5 separate regions of the Homo sapiens genome follow, and all the other regions are linked to region 3. Evidence: promoter capture Hi-C in human tissues and cell types (Jung and others, 2019). All regions are on one chromosome and are shown on one strand. The core of a region is centred on a gene start or on the middle of the fragment in contact, and the rest is flanking DNA. Distances in the headings are between cores, read along the strand shown. Region 1 overlaps CLGN (calmegin). Region 2 overlaps RNF150 (ring finger protein 150). Region 3 holds the start of TBC1D9 (TBC1 domain family member 9). Region 4 overlaps SCOC-AS1 (SCOC antisense RNA 1). Region 5 overlaps SCOC (short coiled-coil protein).

Region 1 (2,700 bases), core at 134-2,633, 330 kb after region 3:
CCTCCTCAAATTCTTCCGAAATATTGAAGAGGAGTAAACACTTCCAGATTCATTCTATGAAGCCAGCATAACCCTGTTATCAAAGCCAAAGACACTACAAGAAAACTACAGAGCAATATTCCAGATGATTATTGATGCAGAAATTCTTAACAAAATACTTGACAACAAAATTCAGCTGCATATTAAAAGAGTTATATACTATGACCATGTTGGATTTATTCCTAAAATTCAAGGATGATTCAACATAAGAAAATCAGTGTACCATGCCACATTTACAATGTAGGGAGGGGAGAACACATGATCATCTTTATTCATGCAGAAAAAGCATTTGACATGATTCAACACTCTTTCATAATAAAAAACACTCAGTACACTAGGAATAGAAGGAAACCACCTCAACATAGTAAAGGTCATATATGAAAAGCCCACAGTTAACATCAGACTAAATGGTGAAAGACTGAAAGCTTTTCCTTTAAGATCTAGAATAAGACAAGGATGCCTGCTTTTTCCACTTCTCCCGAGCCAGAGAAATTAGGGAAGAAAAAGAAAGAAAAAAGACATTCAAATTGAAAAGGAAGAAGTAAAATTATCTCAGCAGATAACATGATCTTATATGTATGTACAAAACCCTAAAGATTTCACGAACACAATACAAAAGTCTGTTAGAAATAATAAATGAAGGCCAGGCATGGTGGCTCATGCCTGTAGTCCCAGCAATTTTGGAGGCCAAGGTAGCCAGATCAGTTGAGTCTAGGAGTTTAAGACCAGCCTGCGCAACATGGCAAAAACCATCTCTACAGAAAAATACAGAACATTAGCTGGGCATGGTGATGCTTGCCTGTAGTCCCAGCTACTCGAGAGGCTGAAGTGGAGGATCACCTGAGTCCAGGAGTTCAAGGCTGCAATGGGCCATGATGGTGCCACTGCACTCCAGCCTGGGTAACAGAGTGAGATCCCATCTCAAAAAACAAACAAATGAATTCACTAAAGTTGCAGGGTAAAAAAACTAGCACACAAAAATTAGTTGCACTTCTGTATACTAACAATGAACAGGAAATTAAGAAAACAATTCCATTTATAACAACATAAAAAAGAATAAAATACTTAGGAATAAATCAAGGAAGTAAAATACTTGTACATGAAAAATTATGAAATGCTGCTGAAAGAAATTAAGAAACAAATATTAATCAATGGAAAGACATTGTGTTCATTGGGATTGGAAGACTTAATAAGATGGAAACACAACCCAAAGTAATCTACAGATTCAGTGCAATCCCTGTCATAATCCTAATAGCACTTTTTGCAAGAATAGTAAAATTCATATAGAATCTCAAGGGACCCCAAATAGCCAGAACAATCTTGGGAAAGAATAAGTTTGGAAATCTCACATCTCTGTTTCAAAACTTATTACAAAGCTATAGTAATCAAATCAGTGTGAGACTGGCATAAAGACAGACATATATATCAATGGGATACAATAAAGAGCCTAGTAATAAATTCCCACATATATGTTCAAATTTTTTTTATAAAAGTGCCAAGACCATTTTGTGAGAAAGGACAGTCTTCTCATGAGATGATATTGGGGAAACTGGCTATCCACATGCAAAAGAATGAGGTTGTAACCTTACCTTAAATCATAGACAAAAATTAACTCGAAATGGATTGAAGACTTAAACATAAGAAAACTATAAAACTGTTAAAAGAAAACATGGAAAGCTTCATGACATTGAATTTGCCAGTAATTTTTATATGACACCAAAAGCACAGACAACAAAAGAAAAAATATATAAATTGGAAAACTCAAAATTAAAAAGTTCTGTGCATCAAAGAACACAACAAAATGAAAAACCTATGCAATGGGAGAAAATATTTGCCAATCATATATTTGATAAGGGGTCAGTATCCAGAATTTGTAGGAACTCCTACAACTCAAAACAAAAACAAAACCTGATTTTTTAAATAGGCAAAGGACTTGAATAGACATGTTTCCCTTGAAGATGTATAAATAGCCAACAAGCACATGAAAAGATACTCAGTATCACTAATCATCAGGGAAATGCAAATCAAACCACAATATGATACTACGCCATATTAGGACCTATTACAATGACTACTATTTAAAAAAACATAATTTTGAACAAATGTTGGCAAGGATGTGTAGAAATTGGAACCCTTGTGCCTTGTTGGTGGGAAGGTAAAATGGTAAAGCCACTGTGGAAAACAGTATGAGGATTCAAAAAAAAATAGAATTATCATATGACCAAGCAATTCAACTTATGGGTATATACTCAAAAGAATTGAAAACAAGGTCTCGAAGAGTTATTTGTATACCCATATTCATTGTAGGATTATTCACAACAGCCAACAGGTGGAAGCAACCCAAGTGTCCACTGACAGATGAATGTATAAACAAAATGTGGTGTATACACACAATGGAATACTGTCCAGCTTTAAAAAGGAAGGAAATTTGATACATGCTACAACATGGATGAAGCTTCAGGGCATTATGCTAAGTAAAATAAGCCAGTTACAGAAAGACCAATACTGTATGATTCCACTTATATGCAGTACCTAGAGTAGTCAAAATCATAGAGATAGATATTAGAAAGATGGTTTCCAGGGGCTGGAGGGAAGGGTAGTGGGGAGTTGTTAAAAGTGTATAGCGTTTTAGTTTTAGAGCATGAAGAAAGTTTTGGAAAT
Region 2 (2,700 bases), core at 120-2,619, 370 kb before region 3:
TTTGTGAGATTCTTTGTTTCTCTGTGCATATGCATGAAATCTTGAACTCAACTTCTTTGAACATAAAGTAAGAGGCATCATTTGTTCCTGTCTAAAAAGGTTCTCTAGAACTGCCAACACATTGGATCAATTAATGGCTTGCTTATTTTTAAAGAAAACACTAAGCAGATTTCCCACACAAATGATGCTTGATTAAGATAGTGGGAGTGGAAGTTTAGTAATACTGTAGTTTGAACGTTAAAGGAAAAAAAAAATTGGAAATTGTCTATTATCTAATTGTTCTGTTTCCAAAAATGTATTCATGCTGTATCTGCCAATGGCCAGGAAACTCCATATTATCTTCTGACATTTTGCCACATTAGGAGACTCTGTTCACTTCAGTCAGAGGCTAGCATTGATTTCTGCTAGAGTGTCATTATGAGCAGATACATGACAGGGTAGCATGGTAAACCCTTGACTATACTCTGAAATTCTTCTGCCTAAATCTCAAACACTGCCAGCTCTTGTCTGGCTGTCAGTGTCTTCCATGTAGTCCAGATCTTGAAAGCTTTACTTTTCCTAGTTAAATTTGAGGTCAGATTTCTGAATTCAGTTTGAGAAACTGCACATTTTAGATGCTAATCAAATATTTTTATTTTGTGAACTTGGGATACCATACCAGAAAATCTGCATATTTGTGAACTTTTAAATTCAGTTTTTAAAAAGTTTTAAAAACTGCAAAAGCTGATGATATATCTATCACCTTTCCTTAGATGCTTTATTTTTGGAACTGATAGATTTCAGGTGAGAAGGTCTGTATTTAGTGTTATGCAACCTGTCGTTTAACATCTATGCATTTGTGTATCTTGAAATTCAATTAAATAGAAATTGTTTTGTCCTTTTCATATACGTTTTCTGTTTTTTTCTTTTCCTGCTTAAATAATTTTGATTTTCTGCCACTTATGTAACTATAACTTCTCATTCAAAAAGACACCACTTCTCCTGGGATAGACCAGTAGTTTTGCTTTATAACAAGTCACTTTCCTCCCCAGTATAACAGCTTTACTGAAATATAAACATACTCTGCAGTTCACTCATTTAAAGTATGCATTTCAATGGCTTTTAGTGTATTGACTGAGTTGTGCAGCCATCATCACTATCTAGTTCTAATAAGAAACTCTTGTACTTCCCCAATATTCCCCAACTCCTAGTCACTCCCCATTATTCCCCAACTCCCAGCCCTAGGCTAATCTACATTCTGTCTTCATGTATTTAAATGCCTCTTTTGTACCTTTCATATAAATGGAATCATATAATATGTGGACTTCTGTGATTGGCCTCTTTGATTTAGCATAATCTTTCTAAGGTTCATCAAGGTTGTAGCATGCGTCAGTACTTAAACCCTTTTTATTGCCAAATAATATTTCGTTGTATGGATATATCACATTTTGTGTATTTATTCATCAACTGATGGAAAATTACGTTGTTTCTACCTTTTAATTGTTATGAAAAATAGTGCTATGAACATTCATGTACAAGTTTTTGTATGGACATTTCTCTTGATTATATACCTAGGAGTGGAACTTCTGAGTCATATGGCAACTCTATGATTTAATCTTTTGAGGACCTTCTAGACTGTTTTCCAAAACAACTGCATCATTTTGCATTCTCACCAGCAGTGTTTGAGGGTTCCAATTTCTCCACAGCCTCATCAACATTTGTTACTATCTTTTTTATTTTGCCCATTCAAGTGGATGTGAAGTGGCATCTTCATTTTGTTTTAAATTTTCATTTCCCTGATGACTAACTGTTACTTTTTAACATAGTCTTGTTTTTTTCTGCTATTCATTTTATTCCCTTTCACCTTACACCCACCATTATTTATTCTTTTCCAGACTTTCAACTCATACACTTTTATGCTAGGGAAGAGAGAGTGATTAATAGAGAGAATCTGCTTCTCTCACTTTTTTTTTAAGTCTATGGACCAGAGATTTATATGTCCCCTATTAAGGGACATAAGGCTGTATCTTTAGTGCAAGAGCACCAAGAAGGCCATAGCAAAAAGCTATAGAGAAATGCATCTTCCAAGTAGTAAAAGCCCCAGAAGTGAACTTTCAGTTATAGGCAAAGGCAGTGAGACTCAAATTACCTCCTCAAAGCTGGTCTGATGCCTGCCTGTGAAGCTTCTTTCGGTGTACCCTAAGGAAAATGATGATATCAGAAATTTCTAGAGGCAGTTTAGGGCACTAATTAAATAGGAGTGTAGCCTCTAGAGCCAACCACTTGGATTTGTGTCCTGGTGGCACTACTTTCTCACTGTGTATCTTTGTGCAAGTTAACCTCCCAGGTCTTGGGTTTCCTCCTTTGTGAAGTGGAGGATAACACCATACCTCGATTGCTTGTTATGTGAATTAGATGGATTAATGCATGTACAGTGTTTAAATCTGTAGCTGGCACAAAGCAGTCAAAAAATGTTAGCCCTTCTAAGCATTGGACCCAGTGACACACAACGACATGCAGGAGCTACACACTGGATCATCATACCTCTGAGGCTCACTGAGTTCCTGGCAGCCTTGGGAAAGAACTCCTTATTTACCCTTTCATACTGAAGAGGCCAGAGCAGTGGTGCCAATTTGTTTGTGGCTCAGCTAATTGAAACAGGGTGTTCCAGTTCCCTTTGATTGATGAACATTTAAGATTCTCCTATTGAGTTTGTACTTT
Region 3 (2,700 bases), core at 116-2,615:
AGCCCAAGCGGTAGGAAGCGAACAGATGAAATGGCAGTCTCATTAGAATGGCTGGTGATTTGCTCATTCGACTAATTGAAGGAATTCAACAATTCAAGTCGGAGCTACAAAAGTCACAATTTTGAAGCCCACACAAGAAGGTTTCATTTGAATCTCTGCTCATTTGGAAAGGGAAAAGTCCCTAGGATTGCCCAGCATCCACAACAAAGCAGAGTCTGCTAAATTCCCATCATTTGGGAAGAGGAACTTTTTTTTTTTTTTTTTTTTTTTTTTTTTTGGCTGAACTATCCTCCAGATCTCCTGGGCGGGAGGAAAAAAAAATGGTCATCAGATATGTAGGCAGATGGGCTGTGATCACCACTGGAAGCTCGAAGTATTTGGGGAAACTGAAACTGTCTAGGGATAAAGCTGCCCTGGTTTGTGTGTTTCTGGTTTCACTGATTAAAAAAAAAATCCATCTACCAAGAGTGGATAAATTTTAAAATTCTGCCATGCCCAGTTTTCGAAGCCCCAAATGCGATATAGGAACAGCTGTGGTGTGAATTAGTTGGTCTAAGCTTTTGGGCCGCTTCCAACTTCTCTATTGCTCACGCCCTACAGGTCAAGGAAAGAAGTGATGTAATGCACTTAGCTAGGCCACTTTAATTACAATGGAATGGAGAGGGGGGAGGGGTCACAAGCGGTGACAAGTTTAGCGCATGACTTGCCCTGGGGATGCAGGAAACAAAAACATCGACGACCATTGGCTGCGTTGGCTTCCGACCCCGGGTCTCTAACCGAGCTCCAGGTCTGGAACCTTGAAACACTTTTCCTGGGAAAAGGGGTGGCGCTATCCCATAGAGCGTCAACCTTAAACACAAACAGCACACACGCACCCACGCAGGCTGGCGGCGTCCTCCCTGCTGGGATGGGCGTCGGGCCCAGTGCTTGGCACACGGTCCCCAGGAGCTTCCCCCGAAGGTTCCCCCGAAGCCAGCCACAGCTGCTCAGCTCGGCGCGCGGAGCCCGCGGTGGTACCGAGTCCGCACAAACCCGGACCCGCTCCAAGTGAGCCGCGTTGTCGTCATTCATTCGCAGTGTCCGGAGCGTCCTTCCAGCGGGGAGCTGGGCTTCCCTAGTGGCGCCTGCGGCCCCGACACGGCGCGTTAAGGCGCGGCGACTTCGGGAGCTCGAGCAGGTAGAGACGGGAGGGGCTCTGGAGCTCCAGTCGGCGCCGCGGGAGCAGCAGCGCCGGAGCCCAGCTTGGCCCTGACCGCGGGGCCGAATCCGCTCGGGTGGCCCTTAGCCCTGCCTGGCGCTGAGCCGGATCCCGGGACTGAGCTATACCACTTCCTCCTCCTCCCGCTCCCTTCCTCCTCCTCTTCCTCCTCCTCCCGCTCCTCCCGCCGCCGTGGGCCGGGAGCCGGGCTGCAGAGTGCCAGGCCGGGCGTCTGCGGCCGCGGGCTCTCGCGGGGCGGCGACGCCGCGGGGAGGATGCTGCTTGCCGCGCCCGCGTCCTCACCGTCCTCCCGGGCCGCCTGCTGGGGCTTTGTTGTGGCCCGGACGCCGCGGGCCACCCCCTGAAGTCGCCTGCCGCCGCCGCCGCCGCACCTAGCGGACGGGCGGGCGGGCGCGCGTGTGCCCAGGAGTGCGCGCCTGTCGCGGTGGTGGGTGCAGGACTGGACCCACGGGCCCATTGTGCGCCCGCCCGCGGCAGCCAGGACCATGTGGGTGAACCCGGAGGAGGTGTTGCTGGCCAACGCGCTGTGGATCACCGAGAGGGCCAACCCATACTTCATCCTGCAGCGGAGGAAGGGCCACGCCGGCGATGGAGGCGGCGGCGGCGGACTGGCGGGTAAGGACCGTGGCCGATCCCTGCAGGAGGGGAGCCGGGAGCGCTGCGGCGCCGCCCGCGGCCTGGGCTGCAGGCTCGGGAGACGCCGCCCGGTCCCCTGGGGCTGGGCGACCCGCCCTGCCTCGTTGTATGCGAGGCATCGAGAGTCGTGATGTTCAGGTTGGGCAGAGATGCTTCTTTTTTTGACTCTGTCAGGCTTGGGGCCCTCAGCGTACTGAGCGCTCTTTAAGTGGATATGTTGAGGAGAATGGGAAAGAGTGAGTCTGGGGCGGAGGGAATGTATTATCCCCTATATATTGAATGCATCATTCCCTTCCCCTCCCCCCCTTAAAAATATTGTTTTCCAAATGGAAAAGAGGGATGGAAGAAGGTTAATTTTTGCTCCACTTTCTTTACTGGCAACAGCAGGATCAGGTATAAAATGCTCTTTTGTTTCCAGGGAAGCGATAAGTAAGGAACTGATGTGGTCATTTCCTATATGAGTTATGACCGAAGAGAATGAATACGGAAACAGGAATTTTTTTGTTTCACCTAATTAGACATAAAGCAAAGCAAATTGTCTGGTTCTAGTTGTAAAAATAATTGGCTGTATAACTGCATTTTAACTATTTTTGCTCAATCACTTCTTCCCTAAACCCCCTCCCTTCAAGGTATTATTGTAATTGTTGCTGAAGCCATGTCATATCATTCAGGATAATAAGATCAGTCAGACCCATATCCAAAGTAGTGCCATATTAGAAATAATCTCGAACTCATACCATACTAGAGAAATTGGACCTTCTCCATCTCTGTGTTATTTAGAATGAACAGAACTGGAATACTTTTTACAGTGAAAAAGTTAGCAGAAGAAATAGTAGAGGTTTCAC
Region 4 (2,700 bases), core at 19-2,518, 390 kb after region 3:
AGCGATCCACCCACCTGGGCCTCCCAAAGTGCTGGGATTACATGCGTGAGCCACCACGCCTGGTCAATAACTAATATTTTATAAAAGAATGCACCTGGCCTTCTTCCTTCTTGCCAAACGCCACCAACATGGTGTTCAGGCGCTTCGTGGAGGTTGGCCGTGTGGGCTACATCCCCTCTGGACCTCGTGCCAGAAAATTGGTTGCAACTGTAGATGTTATTGATCAAAACAGGGCTTTGGTTGATGGACCTTGCACTCAAGTGAGGAGACAGACCATGCCTTTCAAGTGCATGCAGCTCACTGATTTCAACCTCAAGTTTCCACACAGAGCCCACCAGAAGTATGTCAGACAAGCCTGGCAGAAGGCAAACATCAATACAAAATGGGCAGCCACACGATGGGCCAAGAAGATTGAAGCCAGAGAAAGGAAAGCCAAGATGACAGATTTTGATCATTTTAAAGTTATGAAGGCAATGAGGAACAGAATAATCAAGAATGAAGTTAAGAAGCTTCAAAAGGCAGCTCTCCAAAAGCTTCTCCCAAAAAAGCACCTGCTGCGAAGCGTGCTACTGCTGCTGCAGCTGCTGCTAAAGTTCTAGCAAAAAGATGACCGCTGCAGGCAAGAAGGCTCCAGCTTAGAAGCTTCCTGCCCAGAAAGCCACAGGCCAGAAGGCAGCGCCTCCTCCAAAAGCTCAGAAGGGTCAAAAAGCTCCAGCCCAGAAAGCACCTGCTCCAAAAGCGTTTGGCAAGAAAGAGGTGATTAGAAAAGTAATAAAAGTTCTATTTGGGAAAAAAAAAAAAAAAAGAAAGAAAGAAAAGGAGGCACCCAAGATTGCAAGCAAGGCTCTAAAATGCTAGGCTGCTCATGGATTTTTAAAATTGCATTATACAAACATGATCTTTACAGTTTTCTGTTTCCCTGGTAACCATTTATGATAAAAATAATCAACTTGTTAGAGTTCCTCTGTCAGCTTTTGTCAGGATCTGGGATGTTACCCTACAGTTGACCCTTGAATAATGTGGGGCTTAGGAGGTGCCAATACCCTGTGTAATGGAAAATCCATGTATAACTTTTGACTCCCCCAAAGTATAATTGCTAATAACCTATGTTGACTGGAAGCACTACCAATAACATAAACAGTCAATTAACACATATTTTGTATATATGTTGTATTCTTACAATAAAGTAAGCTAGAGAAAAGAAAATGTTATTAAGAAAGTAAGAAGGAAGAGAAAATATATTTACATTACGTGGAAGTGGGTCATCATGAAAGTCTTCATCTTCTTCATTTTCACATTGAACAAGCTGAGGAGAAGGAGGAAGAGAAGGGGTTGGTCTTCCTGTCCCAGAGGCAACAGAGGCAGAAGAGATGGAGGAGAAAAAGGGAGGAAGGAGAGTCAGACACTCAGTGAAACTTTATGAAAATACATTGTAATTTCTGTCTGACTTTTTGCTCCTTTTCATTTCTCTTAGAATGTTTCTATATGGTAACACCTTTCTTCCACTGCTTTGGTTTCAGTGCCTTTATCAAAGAAGTTTCAGTGCCTGTATCATAGAAGCCATGCCATTCTTTTTGTCCAAGAAGTCAAAAGCAGTCTTGAATAACTGGAACCCTTCTGCCAGATTGTCTAATGTCAATTTTTCTGGCACTGCCTCTTCTATGTCTTCTTTCTCATCATGTGGCACTGGTTTGAAAGCACCAATCTCCACCATGTCTTCTTCTGTTAATTCCTCTGCTGTGGTATCTGTTAGCTCTTACATTTCTCCAAGATCCAGATCTTGAAACCCTTCACTTTTCACTTTTTTTTTTTTTTTGCCATATCCATATCTTTCATGATTTCTTTGATTGGCTCTGTGGTAAATCCTGTGAAGTCATGCACAATATCTGGATAGTTTTCTTCAGCAGGAATTTATTATTTCAATCTTGATGACCTTCACAACTTTTTTTTATAACAACGATGACATCTTCAATGGTGTAATCATTCCAGACTGTCATGATGCTCTCTCTATCAGAATTCTCTTCCATGGCATTGACAGTCCTTTCCATTGAGTACCCTGTGTAATAAGGCTTAAGGGTTCTTAAGAGCCAAGGATCTAGAAGCTGAATTAAAGACATTGTGTTTGGGGGCAAGTAGACCACATTGACAGCTTCAGTTTTGACCTCATGGGGTTCTGGGTGGCCAGAGGCACTGTCCAATATCAGAAAAAAATTTAAAGGTAGTCCCTATGGGCAAGGTAATTCCTGACTTCAGGGACAAAGCATTGATGGAAACAATCCAGAAAAAGGGTTCTCATTGTCTGGGCCTTCTTGTTGTACAGCCATTAAGACTGGCAGCTGATGTTTTTCTTTTCCCTTCAAGGCTCAGGGATGAGCAGCTTTATAGATAAGGGCAGTCCTGATCATAACCCCCCTGCATTTGCACAAAACAGTATAGGTAGCCTATCCCTTCCTGCCTTAAATCCTGGTGCTCACTTCTCTTCCTTACTAATAAATGTCCTTTGTGGATTTTTTTTCCAGAATAGGGCACTTTGATCTGCATTAGAAACCTGTTCAGGCAGATATTCTGTCTCCTCAATGATTTTCTTAATGGCATCTGGAAACTTGTCTGCTGTCTCTTGATTGGCAGAAGCTTCTTCTTTAATTATCTTGACATTTTTAAAGCCAAACCTCTTCCTAAAATTATTAAGCCATCCTTTGC
Region 5 (2,700 bases), core at 97-2,596, 370 kb after region 3:
GGAAATTTGTATTGGGAAACAGTGGGGAAAATGGGTGCCTTAAACTATTTGGGATGCTATAACAAAATATAGACTGGGTGGCTTATAAACAAATTTATTTCTCAGTTTTGGAAGCTGGAAGTCTGAGAGATCAGTGTTGAGGGCCCTCTTCCAAGATGCAGACTGCTGTCTTCTATGTGGCAGAAAGAGAGCTCTCTGGGGTTTCTTTTAATGACACAATCCCATTCATGAGGGTTTCACCCTCATTACCTAATTATCTCCCAAAAGCCCCACCTCCTAAAAGCATCACATTGGGGTTAGGATTTCAACCTAAGAATTTTGGGAGGACACATTCAGTCCATAACAAGGAGTATGCTGATTTTTCCCTACCAAACATTATTCTACCAGCATGTAAACTAGGAAGTATTAAAGGAAAAACCATTCTGACACTTGTTAAAGCAGTAAAGAAGACTTTACTCAGGACTGTATATGTTAAGACCATCACCCAATAAGGGAAAGAAACTGGGCTCAACTAACACAGCAAATACAACTGAGGATTTATAGTCAATGAGCAGTGATGAGGTCAGTGGATGGAAAACTACTAACTGGAGACATCAAGAGTAGGGTGATTCTTGCCAAAGACAGGCCAGGTTGACGATCATCAGTTATTGAGGATGGGATTATCTCTAAACTCATTTAGCAGGATTTTTGCTAAAACTGGACTAGTCAAAAACAGGGCTCAGAGGTGCCTGTCTAAAATTTGGTCGAGTCTTTTCCAGAAGCTGGACACAGTCCCTGTGCACACTGTGTACCACCTATATTTCTAATGAAGAAATTATCCTGAAGTATTGCATAGCAAAAACTAAGTATATAGCATTAGCTTACCATTAACATGACAAGCAGTGGGGATATATTTTGACACCTACTAATCTGATAGCTCTAGCTGGAAAAAGCCAGAATGTTAAGTGAATTGGCTATTCCTTGCTTTCAGCAAGGTATCAAAAAAATTGACATTTTCAAGCAAAGATAGAAGGGAATAGACAAAGTTTTGATACAAGGAACCTCATGAAATTAAGCCAATTGTTTCTGAAGTCTGAATAGCAGCAAAGGTTCAAAATTATTTTTGAGGTGGGGGAGATTGGGGGGAAGCCCATGAAGACTTCTCTACCAATCGTTAAGCCAAAGGAACCCAGCTTTGCAGTGATGATCTGCATGTAACATTCCCAGTGTAATCTTATTTTTAGTTGATCTCAAGATAGCCTCCATTAAAGAAAGGCAAAAATAATACATACTTTGAGAATTTGGTCAAAAGCTTGGTTGTGGTTCCTCGGCATATGCAATCAGAAGCACACTGATAAAAAGGCTTGAGTTTTTGAGAGAATCGTATTCCACAGAAACATGAGCTTGGCCTTAAAATGATGGGCACCAAATTCACACCAGCAGGAAGTGGACTGTCTTCACAATTCCCATGGAGTGAACACCCAATCTCTACTTCTGAGGTAGCCATGGAAGAAAATGGATAAGGAGTAACTTTCCAGAGGGGAAACCATGGAGTTCAATGAACAAGGGAGTCCCCTGCCAGAGATCAGAATCATAGTTGAATCAAGGAACTTCTCCACTGCTAGGGACAAAATCTTCATACATCTCCCAGGAGCATTCCACAATTTTTACGTTTCCCTTTATTCCATTTTCCAAATTGAGACTTTTTATTTGGCCATCCTGTCCCAACTACATTATAAATGGGCAGCAGCAAGGGTGAGAGCAAATAATTTGCCTATCAGTTTAGAGATTGTCAGACTATTAGAAGCCACATGTAAAGGGATGGACCTTTAATAGAGATCCTAGATTGTGAGCTGAATCACTAGCTGGATGAAGAGGGATTACTTTCTGTGTAAGGGAAGATACTTGGTAGCACAAGAAGAGCTGTGGCTGAGGCTGCTAGCAGCCACCAAAATCTTGTATTTATAGCTGGAAGATGGCTTCCCAGCCAGGGACTACATTTCTCAGCTCCTCTTGTATCTAGATGTAACTAAGTCTCCACACCACTGGAATATGAGAAGATATATGAGCCATTTCCAGGCACAGCCCATAACACCTTGCATATGTACACTTCCATGTTCTTTTTCTGCAAATTAGAAGAATAACTAGAGTGACTTGAAAGCCATGATTTAAAATGGCAGCACCATCCTCAGCCAAAGTCCCTGAATAACTGTTTGAACAAGGGCTGCTAGCCTGCAATGCTGACCTTGGAACCACTGGTTGGGAGAGAAACTTCTATATTTATATTCTTTATCACTGGGTCTCTTGCTAAAGTAGCTTAGCCTACCCTAAAAAATACAACTTCCTTTTTCCCTGGAGATACTGGATCCTTTGAGTGCTTTGCTTTTGTTTTCCAAATTAATGTATAATAGCCTATGATATTTATATTGATAACCAGTTATAGTTGTATTAATAAAAATATTATTCCCCTAAATAATCAGTAACTGGGTACTTAAATAAGATACACTATTCTGTGGCATTGAATAACCCTGGATACACCACTATACCTAAATACCCCATTTACTTAGGCAACTATATCAAAACACACACAACCTCTGAAATAGCTTTTTATTAAACGGCAAAGCAGAACTGCAACACAATTTAAATGTCTGTAAATTAGGTCACAAAAGGGATGCAAAATGTTTGCAGTTTGACTATTATATATTCACACAGCTAAAGTCA

The links. Contacts are between HindIII fragments. The study calls those that stand out against the background at their distance.
Region 1: a fragment that was not itself captured here is called in contact with the fragment with the promoter of TBC1D9 in region 3 in 2 of the 25 tissues and cell types used here (dorsolateral prefrontal cortex and mesenchymal stem cells).
Region 2: a contact is called between a fragment that was not itself captured here and the fragment with the promoter of TBC1D9 in region 3, in 2 of the 25 tissues and cell types used here (dorsolateral prefrontal cortex and hippocampus).
Region 4: a contact is called between a fragment that was not itself captured here and the fragment with the promoter of TBC1D9 in region 3, in 1 of the 25 tissues and cell types used here (bladder).
Region 5: a contact is called between a fragment that was not itself captured here and the fragment with the promoter of TBC1D9 in region 3, in 1 of the 25 tissues and cell types used here (mesendoderm cells).

Annotation. Positions count from the first base shown.
Region 1 is chr4:140,420,897-140,423,596 of GRCh38, reverse strand. The region is part of intron 1 of CLGN (calmegin); the gene reads left to right. Among named protein-coding and RNA genes, the nearest start is that of CLGN, 5.4 kb to the left of the region's middle. The HindIII fragment of the contact is 3,396 bases long and covers 1-2,700 here.
Region 2 is chr4:141,127,969-141,130,668 of GRCh38, reverse strand. The region is part of intron 1 of RNF150 (ring finger protein 150); the gene reads left to right. Among named protein-coding and RNA genes, the nearest start is that of RNF150, 4.2 kb to the left of the region's middle. The HindIII fragment of the contact is 3,702 bases long and covers 1-2,700 here.
Region 3 is chr4:140,755,050-140,757,749 of GRCh38, reverse strand. TBC1D9 (TBC1 domain family member 9) reads left to right here and starts at 1,365. Exons shown (of 21, transcript NM_015130.3): 1 at 1,365-1,834. The coding sequence starts at 1,705. RefSeq lists enhancers at 843-892, 383-1,024, 1,025-1,667 and a silencer at 1,323-2,012. The HindIII fragment of the contact is 15,545 bases long and covers 1-2,700 here.
Region 4 is chr4:140,364,289-140,366,988 of GRCh38, reverse strand. The region is part of intron 2 of SCOC-AS1 (SCOC antisense RNA 1); the gene reads left to right. It also overlaps a transcript of SCOC not described here and the pseudogene RPL14P3. Among named protein-coding and RNA genes, the nearest start is that of SCOC-AS1, 7.8 kb to the left of the region's middle. The HindIII fragment of the contact is 4,048 bases long and covers 1-2,700 here.
Region 5 is chr4:140,382,424-140,385,123 of GRCh38, reverse strand. It overlaps SCOC (short coiled-coil protein), which reads right to left. Exons shown (of 4, transcript NM_001153484.2): 4 at 1-2,700. Among named protein-coding and RNA genes, the nearest start is that of SCOC, 10 kb to the right of the region's middle. The HindIII fragment of the contact is 3,780 bases long and covers 1-2,700 here.